Regions from separate parts of the Homo sapiens genome. Here region 2 is linked to region 1. Evidence: promoter capture Hi-C in human tissues and cell types (Jung and others, 2019). All regions are on one chromosome and are shown on one strand. Each heading gives the region's core, a stretch centred on a gene start or on the middle of the fragment in contact. The rest is flanking DNA. Distances are from core to core; before and after follow the strand shown.

Region 1 (6,414 bases), core at 2,552-5,051:
TGCCTCTTTGCCCAAGATTATGACAAACTAAGCCAGATTTAGTCTGTCTAGCTCTTGCTCTTAACACAAAGTTTTGAATGGTTTTTCCTCAAAGAGAGAGAAACAAATAATAAGTGTTTATTCTGGCTAGCATGAAAATTCTCTTCCTAGTGCATTCTCTTCTCAGTGCAATTCTCTTTGCCCCACTATTCCAAGGTGCAAAAGCTGAGACTTAGCCAACCACTTACTAGGAACCCATTCTATGTGGACCTACACAAACTCCAAAGCTAAAACCTCTTCAGAAACTCAACTAGTGTAAGCATATGAAAAGCCATAGGATTATCACAGTTGATAATCACTACCAGGCAAAGCCTAGAACAGTAGCTTTTTAACTTTTTTGACCACAACCCTTAGTAAGAAACACATTTCATTATCACAACTCAGTGCACACATGTATAAAGCATGTAACTGAAATGAAAGTTTCATGAAACAGCATTTACCTTTATACAACACAAGATGCACTTTGGTATTTTCTATTCTTTTTTTTCTTTTAAGAGAGGGGGTCTCCCTATGCTACCCAGGCTGGTCTCAAACTCCTGAGCTCAAAGGATTCTCCCACTTCGGCTTCCCAAAGTGCTGGGATTACAGTCGTGAGCCATCATCATGCCTGGCAGATATTTTCTATTCTATTATTTAAAAATTCCCAGCATTGGCTCACTCAATTTCTTTCACAACTCAACAAGTGGGTCCTGATAGACGCTTGATGAAAGACTAGACTACAACAAAGGGCTGTCCAGCTTCCCCATCATCCTACAGATTTCTGGATTGGAGCTTTCTAATGCACTTCTCTCCACTAATTATGTACCATGTGCCAGACACTGTTCTGAAGGTTTTAAAAATAAAAAGAAATCTCTGACGAAGATTCAAACTTCAAAGAGTCTTTAAGTTTAGTAATGGACTAAAAACCTATACTGGAATCCTAAGAGATAAAGTGATATGGGAATTTGGAGGACAGAGATTTGTTCCAGCTGGGGATAAATCAACAAGGCTTAAAAAAAAAAAGGTACTACTTGAACTTTTTTTTTCTTTGCTATCAGAGGCCTGCAGGATGAACTGGTCTTAAGTGTGAGAAAGATTTAGCTATGTGATGATGTGGAGGAAGGTGAAGTACTACAAATCAAGAGAGCATAAAAACAAGAACAGAAATATTTCAGCATGTGAACAGTGGACTAAACAGGAAAAAAAGCTTGGGGCCACACTACTTTCTCTCAAAATGTCAGACAAAGAAATTCTTCTGCAGACTGGTGGAAGCTTGTAAGGTATTTAGCAAAAAAGTTACCAGATTATAATGCCTTTTAGAAAGATGCCAAGCAAAAGTATTTAGTGATTTTGAAGTGACCAGAACATACCTATTTTTAAATACTAAGGTTAAAACATCTATTTCAGGTCAGGACGCAGTGGCTCATGCCTGTAATCCCAACGTTTTGGGAGAACAAGAAGGGAGGATGGCTTGAGCCCAGGAGTTCCAGGTTAGTGAGCTACGATTGCGCCACTGTACTCCAGCCTGGATGACAGAGGAAAGCCCTGTATCCAAAAACAAACAAAAAAACGTTCCAAAGGCAAATATACATGTTTTTTAGACTACTTAAGCTCTATCATCTCATCTGCTAATGCGGATAACGTGACAATCAAATGAATTAAGAAAATCACTTAAGCAACAATGAAAAACTCACCCTAAAAAGTGAAAATAAAACCTGTCCCCGAAGTTTTAGTAATGAAAGAGCACTGGAATACGAGTTTTCTGAAACCTATTAGTTGTATAACATTAAATGTGAATTTAGAAATGGGCACCAGATACTTAAGACCTTTATGTGCCAGGGAATGCACTAGATGATTCACATGAGTAAAAATAATTTTCAGAGTCCTAGGACAAGTCTCCTCTTCATCCCCAAAGAACTCAGCCACTATCACGGGGCAGAACCCATAAACAAGTCAGAAACTCGTTTTTTCAATCTTAGGAAAAAATATAGCTCTAGATCCCTTCTACTTGAACCTCCATACAAAATAATAACTGTTTCCAAAATATTCCTTAGCAAGATATACAAGTATTTTACCAACTGGGCTTTCCCCCCTAAACTATCACAACTACTGCCCACTTCCCTATCCCATCTTCCTGCCTCCAACAGTGTAATTTGATTCCTCTGCACATGCTTTTCTTCTCTTCGAGCAAGCTCTTCCATCTTTCCTGTGGAAGAATTACCATCATTCTTCAAGGCCAGTCAAAAGTGCGGTGGTGATAAGCCTTTCACGGAGGCTAGCTCACGCATGGATACTTCACAGCAACTGAACTTGGCCCCTTTATAGCACTAACCGTTAGGTATTAACTACCTGTTCACCTGTCAATTTCCATCAGGTAGGCACAGTTCTTATTGACCTCTACGTACTCCCTCCCTAACACACGGATTATACCTGGCATATACTAACTGCTGGATAATTGGTTGCCAACAGCAACCTCTCACCCTAAGGAAAACCCCACAACACTGTTAGTTTCTAAACATCTGCTGAGAAAACGTTAACACAGGACTTGAAAGTGTATCAGAAAAACATAAACCAAGAGATGAGTGGACTGGGTCAAGCCTGACACAAAGTAACATAGAAAGGCGAAGGCAAAAACAAAGGGAAAAAAAACCCCCAAAACTGTACTATATTCCCAAGGGAGGGAGATTTCACAAAATGAGCAGTGGATAAGATTAGTAATATGAACAGCAAGTTGTGCAGCCTCCGGAAAGAATGCGCAAGGGTATCAATCTTCTAAGAGTGAGGTTCCAGGCACCGAATGGACTGGTCTTACAGCCCGGACAAGAAACGGAGACCGCTTGGTTGGGCTCCAAGACGGAGGTGTGCGGTCCTGCCACTGCGAACGGGGCGGGGAAGAGAGGAAATGACGAGCCAAAAGGGGTGGTAACGGCGCCGGGCCGGAGACCCGGGCGGAGCGGGCTGGGAGGAGGGGCGCGGCGGAGCAGGGGGAGTGGGCGAACTAACGGCCCCCTCTCCCCACCAGGGAGACAGCGGGGGCGGGCCCATAGGGCTCCGAGGCGTGGGCGGGCCAGCCCCGTTGCCAGCCGCACACGGGACCCCGCGGCCGCGGCGCGCACCCTCCCCAGGCCTCCCTCCCGACCTAGAGGGGCTGCAGATAAGACAGACCCGGCTCGCTGGGAGCGGGGAGCGGGGGGCGCGGGCCCCGGGGAGGCTTCCTGTCCCAAGGGCCGGAGAGTGGAGAGTGCAAGGGCAGGTTTAAGTTTGCGGCCAGAACGACCAGGAGGAAATCGCCGAGGCCCAGGGCGCGCATGTGTCCCCTAGTGTAGGGCCATTCGTGGCCCCAGGCCTGGGGCCTGAGAACCTGGGCCTGAGTCGGGGAACAGGGACGCATTCCCAACTGGCCCTGGCACCCTGCGAGGGTCGGAGCCCCGAGGTGCCTGCTCCCCGAGGCGCCATCCCCGCGCGGGGCGGCCCCTGCAGGCCTCGGCCGGGAGTGCCCCGAGGCGCTCGCAGGCCCCGGGCCGGGGCCGCTGGCCGCCCGGCTCGGCTAGGCTCAGCTCGACTCCCCGGGCTCGACGGGCGCCTGGGCCTCTCCTGAGTGGTCAGCGAGACCCGCCAATCGGGGCGCTGGGGCCGGCTCTGGGCCGCTGGATATTGGCTCCTCACACTCACCGTGCCTCGCTCCCCCGGTTCGCTGCCCGCGCTGATTGGCTCCAGTACCGGACTCCGAAACCCAATCAGAGGCTCCAGCCGCCGCTGCCGCCGCCACTGCCGCTGCCTAGCAAAATGGCGAACCCGAACAAAGGGGAATCGGGCCTCCCTCCAACCGCCTCCGCGCAGGCGCCTCTGAGGCCACGCCCACTAACTCCAGTTCAGGGATCGCCCCACCCCTTCGGAGGAGCAACGCGCAGGCGTTCCCTGAAGCCACGCCCACCTTCCCGCTTTGACACCACCCCCAGTGAAAGGAATACGCAGGCGCTTTCCAGACGCGCCAGACCCTTCAACTCAAAACGCTGCCTTGAGCTTAGTACTACGCAGGCGCTAACTAGCCCCTTTGCCAGCTGCCCACCCCTTTCCAAGTGGCCACTAGGACACACCCCTGCGGCTAATGCGCAAGCGCCACTTTTCCCGACTCGTGGGGCAGTTTCGTTACGCATGCGCGGGCGGCGGCGGGAAACCACGGAATTTACTGCCGGAAGTTCGGCGGCCTTCGCCAAAGAGTGTGGGCTCGGCTAGCAAGCTAGAGGGGCTCGTTTCCGCCCCGCTACCGGGCGGGGGCGGCCATCTTAGATGCGTGCAATTAAGGGCTTTGGCGGGATTGGCTCCGCGTTTGGGCTGGTCCGCTGCTCCCCACCTACCAGGGTCGGATCCGGAGCCCTTCCCCGCGGGGCGGGGACCTCCAAACAACCGACTCCTTTCCAGGTGAAGGGTGACTTGGGTACGTTGGGGCTTTGAGCGAGCCTCCCCGCACCCTCCCATAGGACCCCAGGACAGACTGCGTCCTCGCTGACCCGCCCTAGGGTAGGAGACAGAGAATGGGAGGCTTCAATAGACTCTTTCCTTCTCCCACGCACCCCCCAAAAAAGTGGGGGGTGAACGTTCCTTGAGAGGCCGCCTTCCTTTCCCCACGCCTGGGGCTCAGCACGCCAGTACCCTGTACACTCTGTGGTTGCGGCTTAACGGGACTGTGGCCAAGTCCCTTCTGTTTTCTTCTAAGCCAGACCCACTGGGGAAATACTTTTGCGTCGTGCAGAGAAAAGGAGACCGTCCTAAATCGGCCTTGCTCCGGAGTGGCCCTGGAGAAAGGAGGAGGCGTGTCTTAGGGATGGGCTTTGCTTCCGCTGACGGAGCGGGGCGCTCCAGGAAAGCACGAAATGAGAGCGGGTCGAGACAGCCTCCGAACCTAAGCGTTCTTCCTCTTTGCCCCAGAAGGGTTTTGTATTACGTCCCAGGGGCCGAACAAACTCACATTCATCGATAAACGTTGGGGAAAAAAGCCTATTAAGTGGTTGTACAGGGCAATCAGAATATTATATACTAAGGCTGCCTAAGCATTTTTACTTCCTTTTCCCTTCTCATAGCTGAAGAAACACTTAAATTCTGGAAATAGCGACTCAGTATCATGGCCAGCAGCCTTAATGAAGATCCAGAAGGAAGCAGAGTGCGTAACAACTATTGACTTATTGGTGAACTGAAATTCGTAATAATGGAGGTCAAAAGCATAAACACTTTTTAATTAAATTAATGATTGCATTATCTTTTTTTCTCTCTAGCTGATTTACTTTAAAAAGGCTCAAAATTCTAGGCAGGGATCATCCATTACTTTCCTTTTACACATGCTGTAATTGGTTTGGCTTTAAATCAGATTGGAGGAAGGGGTGCCGGGAGAGGTAGTCGTGGGGGACACAAAATACAGAAAAATAGCTTAGTATTTTACTGTATCTAATAAAACATTGTCTTTTCCTTTGCACATTTTTTAGATCACTTATGTGAAAGGAGACCTTTTTGCATGCCCGAAAACAGACTCTTTAGCCCACTGTATCAGTGAGGATTGTCGCATGGGCGCTGGGATAGCTGTCCTCTTTAAGAAGAAATTTGGAGGGGTGCAAGAACTTTTAAATCAACGTGAGTTTTGGAAACCACTTACCTGGTTTGCCCTGGCTAGAGCACCTTTTAATCTGTTACACTTTAATAAAATATGCGTGTAAAGAGGGGATTCCTAAGAACCAAATGTTTTTAAGATTTTCCTCCCCAAGAATGGCCTCTAGTTTAGACGTTTACCATATCAAAACCCAACTCCTGTGAAGGTTTTTAATCTCTTCCTCTTGTATCATGAAACTTTCTTGACGATATTACTGTACTTCTCTGAAACTTGAAATAACTCTGAGATGCTTAGTCTATAGGTTGGCATTCAAGATCCTTTACTTACCAATATTCTGCTTTCTCTTCAAAGAGGAATTTAGAAACCTCTTCTTCCTTACAGACCCCTCCCATCACTTTCTACGGGCCACTTTAAACCAGAAATGTGCACTAGAATCCTATGTAAAGCTTCTGCAACAGTTTCTCCGACCACATTCCAGGCTTAACAGCATCAGTGTCCACAGTGATTCTTAGCCTTAGACAAAAGCAATTCTTACTGCTTTGTATTATAGTTATTTGGAATGATGATATCTTCTCTGGATTGAAAACTCTGTAATAATTAATTCCTTTTTTATATATCTGTATTCCTCATAATGCCTTATACAGCTCTTTGTATGTAAAAAGATAATTATTGAGTAAATACACATTTGGCAAGTAAAAAACTACACACTATAAAACAATTTCAAGGCAATAGAGAAAGTTTGTGGACAAATGAGGATATATTTAAAAGTAGTAGTGGTACAAAAGATGGGTTGT
Region 2 (7,291 bases), core at 4,219-6,718, 1.1 Mb after region 1:
TTTCTTTTTTTTTTTTTTTTTTGAGACGGAGTCTCGCACTGTTGCCCAGGCTGGAGTGCAGTGGTGTGATCTCGTCTCATTGCAAGCTCCGCCTCCCGAGTTCACGCCATTCTCCTGCCTCAGCCTCCTGAGTAGCTGGGACTACAGGCGCCCGCCACCACACCCGGCTAATTTTTTGTATTTTTAGTAGAGACGGGGTTTCACCGTGTTAGCCAGGATGGTCTCGATCTGCTGACCTTGTGATCCGCCCGCCTTGGCCTCCCAAAGTGCTGGGATTACAGGCAGGAGCCACCGCGCCTGGCACGATTTCTTAATATTACTATGAAACTAGTGTTGACCTCTGAAATCCACACTTTGAAAACAATCGAATTAAAGAGGTATTACAAACTCTTCTCTTAGTTTTGCTGATGACAGAATCTAAACAAGAGACTCCTAGTCAGCACCTCATGGCTCTGAGGGTATGCATGATACATGCAGATGCATAAGGCTGCCATGGCTGGTTTCAGTATGCAAGGGGAGTGATAGGTGCAAAGAAGTGGAAGAGTTGAATGGAAAAACTGGATGATACATAAGAGAGCAAGGGGAAGTTTGTTCCTGGAGTAAGGTTATTTTACTGTTCGCCAGCATGTGCGTTCCCTCTCTGAGAGAGGACTAAGCTGCTCTTCCCTTTGAAATTAGATACAGCCATGTGACTTGCTTAAAGCAGAGTGATGTGTGACACTTCCAGGAAGAAGCTGTAAGAGCCAGTTTGCTGTTTGCCACACTCTTTTTCCCTCTTGGTAACCACCAATGTTCTATGTGGATATTCGCTGCCCTATCAGGCCGGGACCCAGAGTGAGGGCAACACTGACCAGAAACAAAGTTCACAGCTAACTCTTGGATATAGTTTGGATGTTTGTCCTCTACAGATCTCATGTTGAAATTTGATCCCCAGTGTTGGAGGGTGGTGCCTGGTGGGAGGTGTTTGGGCTAAGGGAACAAATCCCTCAGGAATAGGTTGGTGTTATCCCCTAGGTGACAAGTGAGTTTTTACTGCATTAGCTTATGCAAGAGCTCGTTGTTTAATGTGACTTCCCTCCTCTCCCCATGTCATGCCTGCTTCCCTCTGCCTTCTACCATAATTGGAAGCTTCCTGAAGCCCTCACCAGAAACAGACGCTGGTACCATGCTTCTTATACACCCACAGAACCATAAGCCAAATGAACCTATTTTCTTTATAAATTACCTAGTCTCCATTATTCCTTTACAGCAATGTAAAGCAGACAAATACACCTTTCCTGGACATGTAGCCCAAATGAGAGAATAAACACTTGTGATTTTCAGCCTTTGAGATATTAGAGTTATTTGTTACAACAGTACAATCTAGCCCAGGCTGACTGACACAGCTGTCTTAGTCTGTTTTGTACTTCTATAGAAGGAATACCTGGGGCTGGGCAATTGATAAGAGGTTTATTTATCTCATTACAAGAAGCATGACATTAGCATCTGCTCAGCCTCTGGTGAAAGCTTTTGTGCTATGTCAAGATATGGTGGAGAAGATCAAAGGGGAAGCTAGCATCAGTACAAAAGGGCCAAACTGGACAAGTGTCCTGGCTTTATAACAACACACTTTCATGGGAACTAATCCCTTCCCCTGGGAACTTGCTCACTAGCATGAGAACAGCACCAAGCCATTCATGAGGGATCTACCCCCATGACCCACACCTTCCACCACTGCCACACTGGGGATCAAATTTCAACATGAGATTTGGTGGAGACAGAAAAACCATATCCAAATCATAACAGCCATCTTACAGGCAAATCAAGGATATGGAATCTGCCATTTAATGTACTTATTGTGAGCCTATTGTGCATTAAATACCATGCTAGGTGGTATGATTACAGATGATTTAGATTTGGCAACAGCCCTCAGAGGGTTTATAGTGCAGAAGGCATATAAATAAACAATGTCACTCTGTTGTAATTGCCACTATTAACAAAGGGTACTATGGAAGGGAGGAGTCCACGAATCCTGTATCAGGGAACCAGCAAGAAACGGCATACTCAGCTAAAAGTTTTGAAGGGATATTTTAATGAAGTTTTAATAAAAAAGTAACTGCTGCTCTTTACCATTAAGAGAGACTATTTTGGAGGTGTGGGCAAGGTTAAGGTGGGCGGGCTGAGGGGGGCAACAGGAATGCTGAGGCATCCAAGGACAATCAGCAGAAGAAAGCCAATCCCACCCCAGTCTGAAGTGAAGAAACAAATGTGAGAAATAGTGTTACTGGACTAAGTGGGAGGTGGAATCATGGCGGAGAGGCCAGATGACACCAACTACAGCTGTAGCCAGAGCAAAACAGGGGAGATCAGGAAGAATAGATAATCCAGCTTTTCTCTCCTCCTGCTCTCTGATCTCCTGCCATGCTCCCTATTGGCAAGATCCACCTGGAAACCAGAGGTCAGGGCACCTGGATGATGCCATCAATGCAGTTGGTAGAAGTCAATCTCCTGGTCCTCAGAGCAGGGTGGAGAAGGATCTGGAGGGGCAAATAAAGACTATCCTGAACAAGGTCCTCAAAAGAGAAATGATAGGAATAATTGATACAATATTTTTTGAAACTTTATTGCTTCATTAAAATGCTTAAAATTGCAAGGAGAGTCCACAGTTACTGATAGAATGGGGATAGGTTTGAATGAATATTCAGATGACTGGACACTTGAGGTTCCTATTAGAAGAGACAATGGACATATGGCTGGAAATCACATCCTGGATCTTTTTTTGAGGGGGAGTTGGGAGATGAAAGTCAAGTGCGGAGAAAATGGGTAGGGAATAAGGAGAAACATATCTTCCTGTCAGCTGGAGAACAGATCACTAGAGATAAATTGTAAGGTGGGAATTGCATCATATTTTTCTGACCTAGTCTCAAAAGCCATGCAGTATCACTTTCACACTGTTACAAACAAGTTACAAACTGACCCAGATGCAAAGGAAGGAAAGTTAATTCCACCCCTTCTGGAGAAAGCAAAATTCTATCATAGGGCTGAATAATACAGTAGCCAGTAGCCACACATGGCTGTTTACACTTCAATTAATGACAATTTAATAAAATTAGAAATTCAATTCTCAGTCACACTAGCCACATTTCATGTGTTCAATAGCTATGTCAGGACATGGAATATCTCCATTATTGCAGAAGTTTCTATTGGACAACACAGCTCTAGAACATACGAGACAGGAAATATTGTTGCAGCCATCTTGCAAATACAGTCTGCCACCAGGACCTAGGCAAACCAAATTGTATTAGAGAAGATAGTGCAGTGGCTCACAAGACATTGTGTACAAGGGTTGGCAATAACTGCTGCTGTTTATCACTAAGAGAGTACTTGGGTTAAAGTCTCAAAGAGAGGATGTATATGCCTAGGGGGCTAAAACTAGGGCCAATAGGAGGGTATCACAAAAGAGAGATTTCTAGGACAGTATGTTCCATGAGGCTCTTTGAGCATGTGACAAAAAGCCACCATTCCCCAGGAAAAAAAAATACAGTATTATGCATTCAAGTTCAGGGGTCTACAGAACCCTCCAAATCAATCCATGGACTTGTCACATCAGAGCCCTACTGCAGGCTGTGAGCCCTTGAAAGTATTTCCTTATTCCCAGCCATTAGCAGAGGATTCGGCCCTGATGACACTTAATCACCATATGTTGACAGAAAGGGGCACTTTTTTGCTGAATACAAGTAAGAACTTTAATAGGTGGGGAAACATTTAAGTGGACCAGACAACATCAGGAAGCCAGAAAGTTTCCCAGCACTACAGGAGTCCAAGTAGATGTATGATAATATGGAGAGGATTTCAGCCTTCAAACAGAACTGAGTAAGCCTTAGGTCTTGCCTTGGAGACCCAAGTTCTATAAAAGATGACAGTAAAGCCCAAGTGAAGGGATGATCACATACAACTTGTATGAAGAGGGTGGAATCTAGAGAGGCTCCAAGGAGCTGGTGACATTCTTGGATCAAGTTCATATGTCAGATGGCTTCTTCCCTGAGGTTGAGTCCTCTCTAGAAGGCTCTTCAAGCCTCATACATACAAAAAAAAAAAAAGTTTTTATCCTTCTCTCCCCCATACCCAGTTTTCCTGATAAATCCAGACATATCTAAACTTAGCAGTGGACAGAGCTTGAACAGTCCTCAGTTGGTCTTCAGGCCCCTTGCAAACAGACCTCTGGCATACTTGTCTCATCAGTTTCAAACACACCCCAGATACACTTTCATCCCCTACAATATATTTTCTGAATTTTGAGTATCATTGTGAGAAATTCACATTGAATCTAAGGCTAAAATCATCTCAGCTTTTCTGACAGTCCCACTGCACTTGTAAAAGTCAGTTATATTCAGTTATTTTTTCCTCTCCCACTATTCGGTCAATTCTTCAAGATCAGGAGCTATATTCCCACTTCCTAAGCATGCACTTGGCAGCTGTATGTTCCAGCCGGTGTTTTATTCTTGCAATTCCACAGGGACAGGGTTTTGGATACAACAGGCTGGTTTGAGCATAATTATTCTTAGTACATAAGCTCATTATTGTGTGTGTTATCCAAAATCTTAAAGGACTACAGCACTCTGCTTTTTATAGAGAGGAAGAGGCACACCCCACCATTCCTAACACATACTGAATCTTGACTGAATGACTGTAGAAAGCAGATTGCCCTGGGTTTGAAACCCACTATCAGCTGTGTGACTTCGAGAAAATTACCTGGTCTCTCTAAGCCTCAATGTCCTCAGTTGCAAAAAGGACATTCTATTCATACCAGGATTGTTTTAAATAACATTTAGCATGGTGCTTGGTGTATAAGAAGCATTTCAAAAATGTTGTCCACTCATTCTGTGACTTCTCATATACTCTTGCCTTCTCCACGAAAAAAAAAAAAAAAAAAAAGATTGTTAATATCCTTTTGGGGCACAACTGGAGAAGTGTATCTTGAAAGACCTAACTGACCGTTTTACAACCACAATCTGCACTATGGTGCACTGAGTGATGTGAGTCATGCAAGTGTAGGCTAAATCTTTTTATTTAGAATGTTGATATTTCACGGACTTCTGAAAATTTATTACGATTTTTTGAAATATTACATTAAAAAATTACTTACTTTGATAACCGCAGTTTACCTGGCACCCTCTTAAATTTTGCATCCAAGGCAGTGCCTCATTCGTTTGGCCCTTGTCCTGTCCTGCCTACTGTCACACCACGACCTAAATCTGAGACTAGAGCAGCCAGAAAAACTGGAAGGAAAAGAACCCCGTTCCTTACCTGAGTTTACCCTTCTGCCCTAGAGCGCTACCCCGGCCCAGGAAAGTGGGCACAGGGAGCGTACTACAGCTCCCACAAGGCCACGCGGGACTGCGTCCTCGCCTATTGGCTGCGCGGGTCCCGCCCTCCCCCTGCCCCTCCCCGCCCTTGCTGGGATGACCCCGGGGGCGAGTGCCCGGCCAGTGTGCTCCCGAAGCGGGCTGCGGTTCCGCTCGTATCAGGCTTCATGGCGGCGCGGCCACTGTCCCGGATGCTGCGGCGGCTTCTGAGGTCCAGCGCCCGGAGCTGCAGCTCAGGGGCTCCGGTGACCCAGCCCTGCCCCGGGGAGTCCGCGCGAGCTGCCTCGGAGGTGAGCCCACCCCGCCTGCGTCCACAGCTTCCCGGGGCAGGAGTGGCCCCGGCACACTGCCCTTTTCCCCCAGTAGCTCCCGGCCTATCTGCTTGACCGCTTCTGGGAGGGACCCGTTGGCACTCCTCAGTGGAGCGATGTTCTCCAGATGGACCGCCCGGTCTCACCCGCTAGCCCAGCGGGAGAGGTTCCTGGGAGTCCCGCTTCAGAACCTCCCTGCCCCCCAGCCACGCCACCCCTTCTAGCCCTGAGCTTGGCCAGAAATTCGGGTAAGCAGAGGACTGGGACTTTGGGTCCAGTGAGGTGTCTTAGTACCTTTCAGCCTTGCCTTGCACCCACCCTCTTTCTTAAACATTTTCCCTCCCTATCCCAAGAGCTGAGAGATCAGGTGTCCCTGTGACACCTGCTTCATAGTGCGACTGACTAAACATGTCACCTCGGTGTCACCAACGATGAGTTGTTACTGTAGTCCCAGGGCTCTGTAACCCATCCTTTGCTGACTCTCCTTGTCTTTTTTATTAACCTTGGGAGGGTTCAGCCTTATCCTAGAGCAGAACAGGGCAGGACGTGGCTTCTTCCAGGTGAGAAATTAATTCCTCTGTCTTTAGGGTTTTGGGTAAGATCCCTCAGTCCTTGCCAGCACCCCTCAGAGTGTTTCAAGTCATTAAAAGTTTTAGGTTTTGGTTGTTCTTCTGCTCAGGTGGTTAGGGAATAATTTGGGGGGAAAAGTACCTCTTTTCATTTAGTGAAACCTCTTTTCGGTACCTATCTAGGCGTTTTTTTCCCCGTCTCCCAGAACTAGGCTTCCTGTCCTGGGATTCATAAGATCACTGCTCCCTCCTCCCCTATATTGCTCAATGACTTCCGCCAAATTTGCTTTCCCCAAATCTAAGCCCCTCTGGGATCCTCAGATAAGCAGGCCCATGGTTGGGAAGTGAAGACTTTTTAGTATCCTCAAACTCTGAACATCATTGAGGAAGAGATAGGAAAGCAAAGATGGCTGAGAGATCTTTAAAGAATTCAAGAAAAGGGACTTTTCTTCTCCAGCCCCCCACCCCCTAGTTTATTTTGTACTGGTCTTTCATGAGAGAACCTGTGTTGAGTGACTCACATGTGGAAGCATTTAGTCCTCACTAAGCCATGTGAGGTGAGTAGAGTTTGTATGTTCAGATGAGGGGGCTAATCTAAGTTAACTTTCCTCCAGTCGCAGAGCTGTAGAGGGCAGGAACTCAACTCTAATGCTTTTCCGTCCTCCCTGTGTGGAGGCCAGGGAGAGAGCCTGCTCCTATCCATCCCTTTACACTGTGAAGGGAGGGGTAATGTGGCAGAAAGGAGAACATAGACTCTGGGGCAGCCCCATCCCTTATTAGGGATTCACCAAGTCCCCTTACCTCTCAGTGTCTGTTTTCTCATCTGCAAAGTAAGAATAAAAGTGTCTACTTCATAGGATGTCACAGGGATTAAAAGAGTTAACGTATGTTAACGTATATACTTAGAACAAAGCTTAGCCCATGTAAGTGCTGTGTTATGTAAATGTTGGTGGTAATTACTATTATCCATGCTGCCACTGGCACATGCTCTGTCCTGTGAGTCCCCTCCCATCTGGACTTGTTGGATAGCTATTCTGTCAACTCACATTGAATCCTGGACATCTCA

What was found. The method cuts DNA at HindIII sites, captures the fragments that hold promoters and counts their contacts. A contact is called where the count stands out against the background at its distance.
Region 2: the fragment with the promoter of MOCS1 here is called in contact with the fragment with the promoter of NFYA in region 1 in 1 of the 25 tissues and cell types used here (hippocampus).

Annotation. Positions count from the first base shown.
Region 1 is chr6:41,070,361-41,076,774 of GRCh38, reverse strand. It overlaps NFYA (nuclear transcription factor Y subunit alpha), which reads right to left and starts at 3,801. Exons shown (of 10, transcript NM_002505.5): 1 at 3,691-3,801. OARD1 (O-acyl-ADP-ribose deacylase 1) reads left to right here and starts at 4,419. Exons shown (of 6, transcript NM_001329686.2): 1 at 4,419-4,539; 2 at 5,100-5,179; 3 at 5,499-5,643. The coding sequence starts at 5,141. RefSeq lists silencers at 2,911-3,070, 3,101-3,730 and enhancers at 4,111-4,160, 4,191-4,400. The HindIII fragment of the contact is 6,789 bases long and covers 1-6,414 here.
Region 2 is chr6:39,932,639-39,939,929 of GRCh38, reverse strand. MOCS1 (molybdenum cofactor synthesis 1) reads left to right here and starts at 5,468. Exons shown (of 11, transcript NM_001358530.2): 1 at 5,468-5,635. The coding sequence starts at 5,513. LOC102723789 (a long non-coding RNA gene) reads right to left here and starts at 5,361. Exons shown (of 6, transcript XR_001744112.1): 1 at 5,287-5,361. The HindIII fragment of the contact is 11,059 bases long and covers 1,318-7,291 here.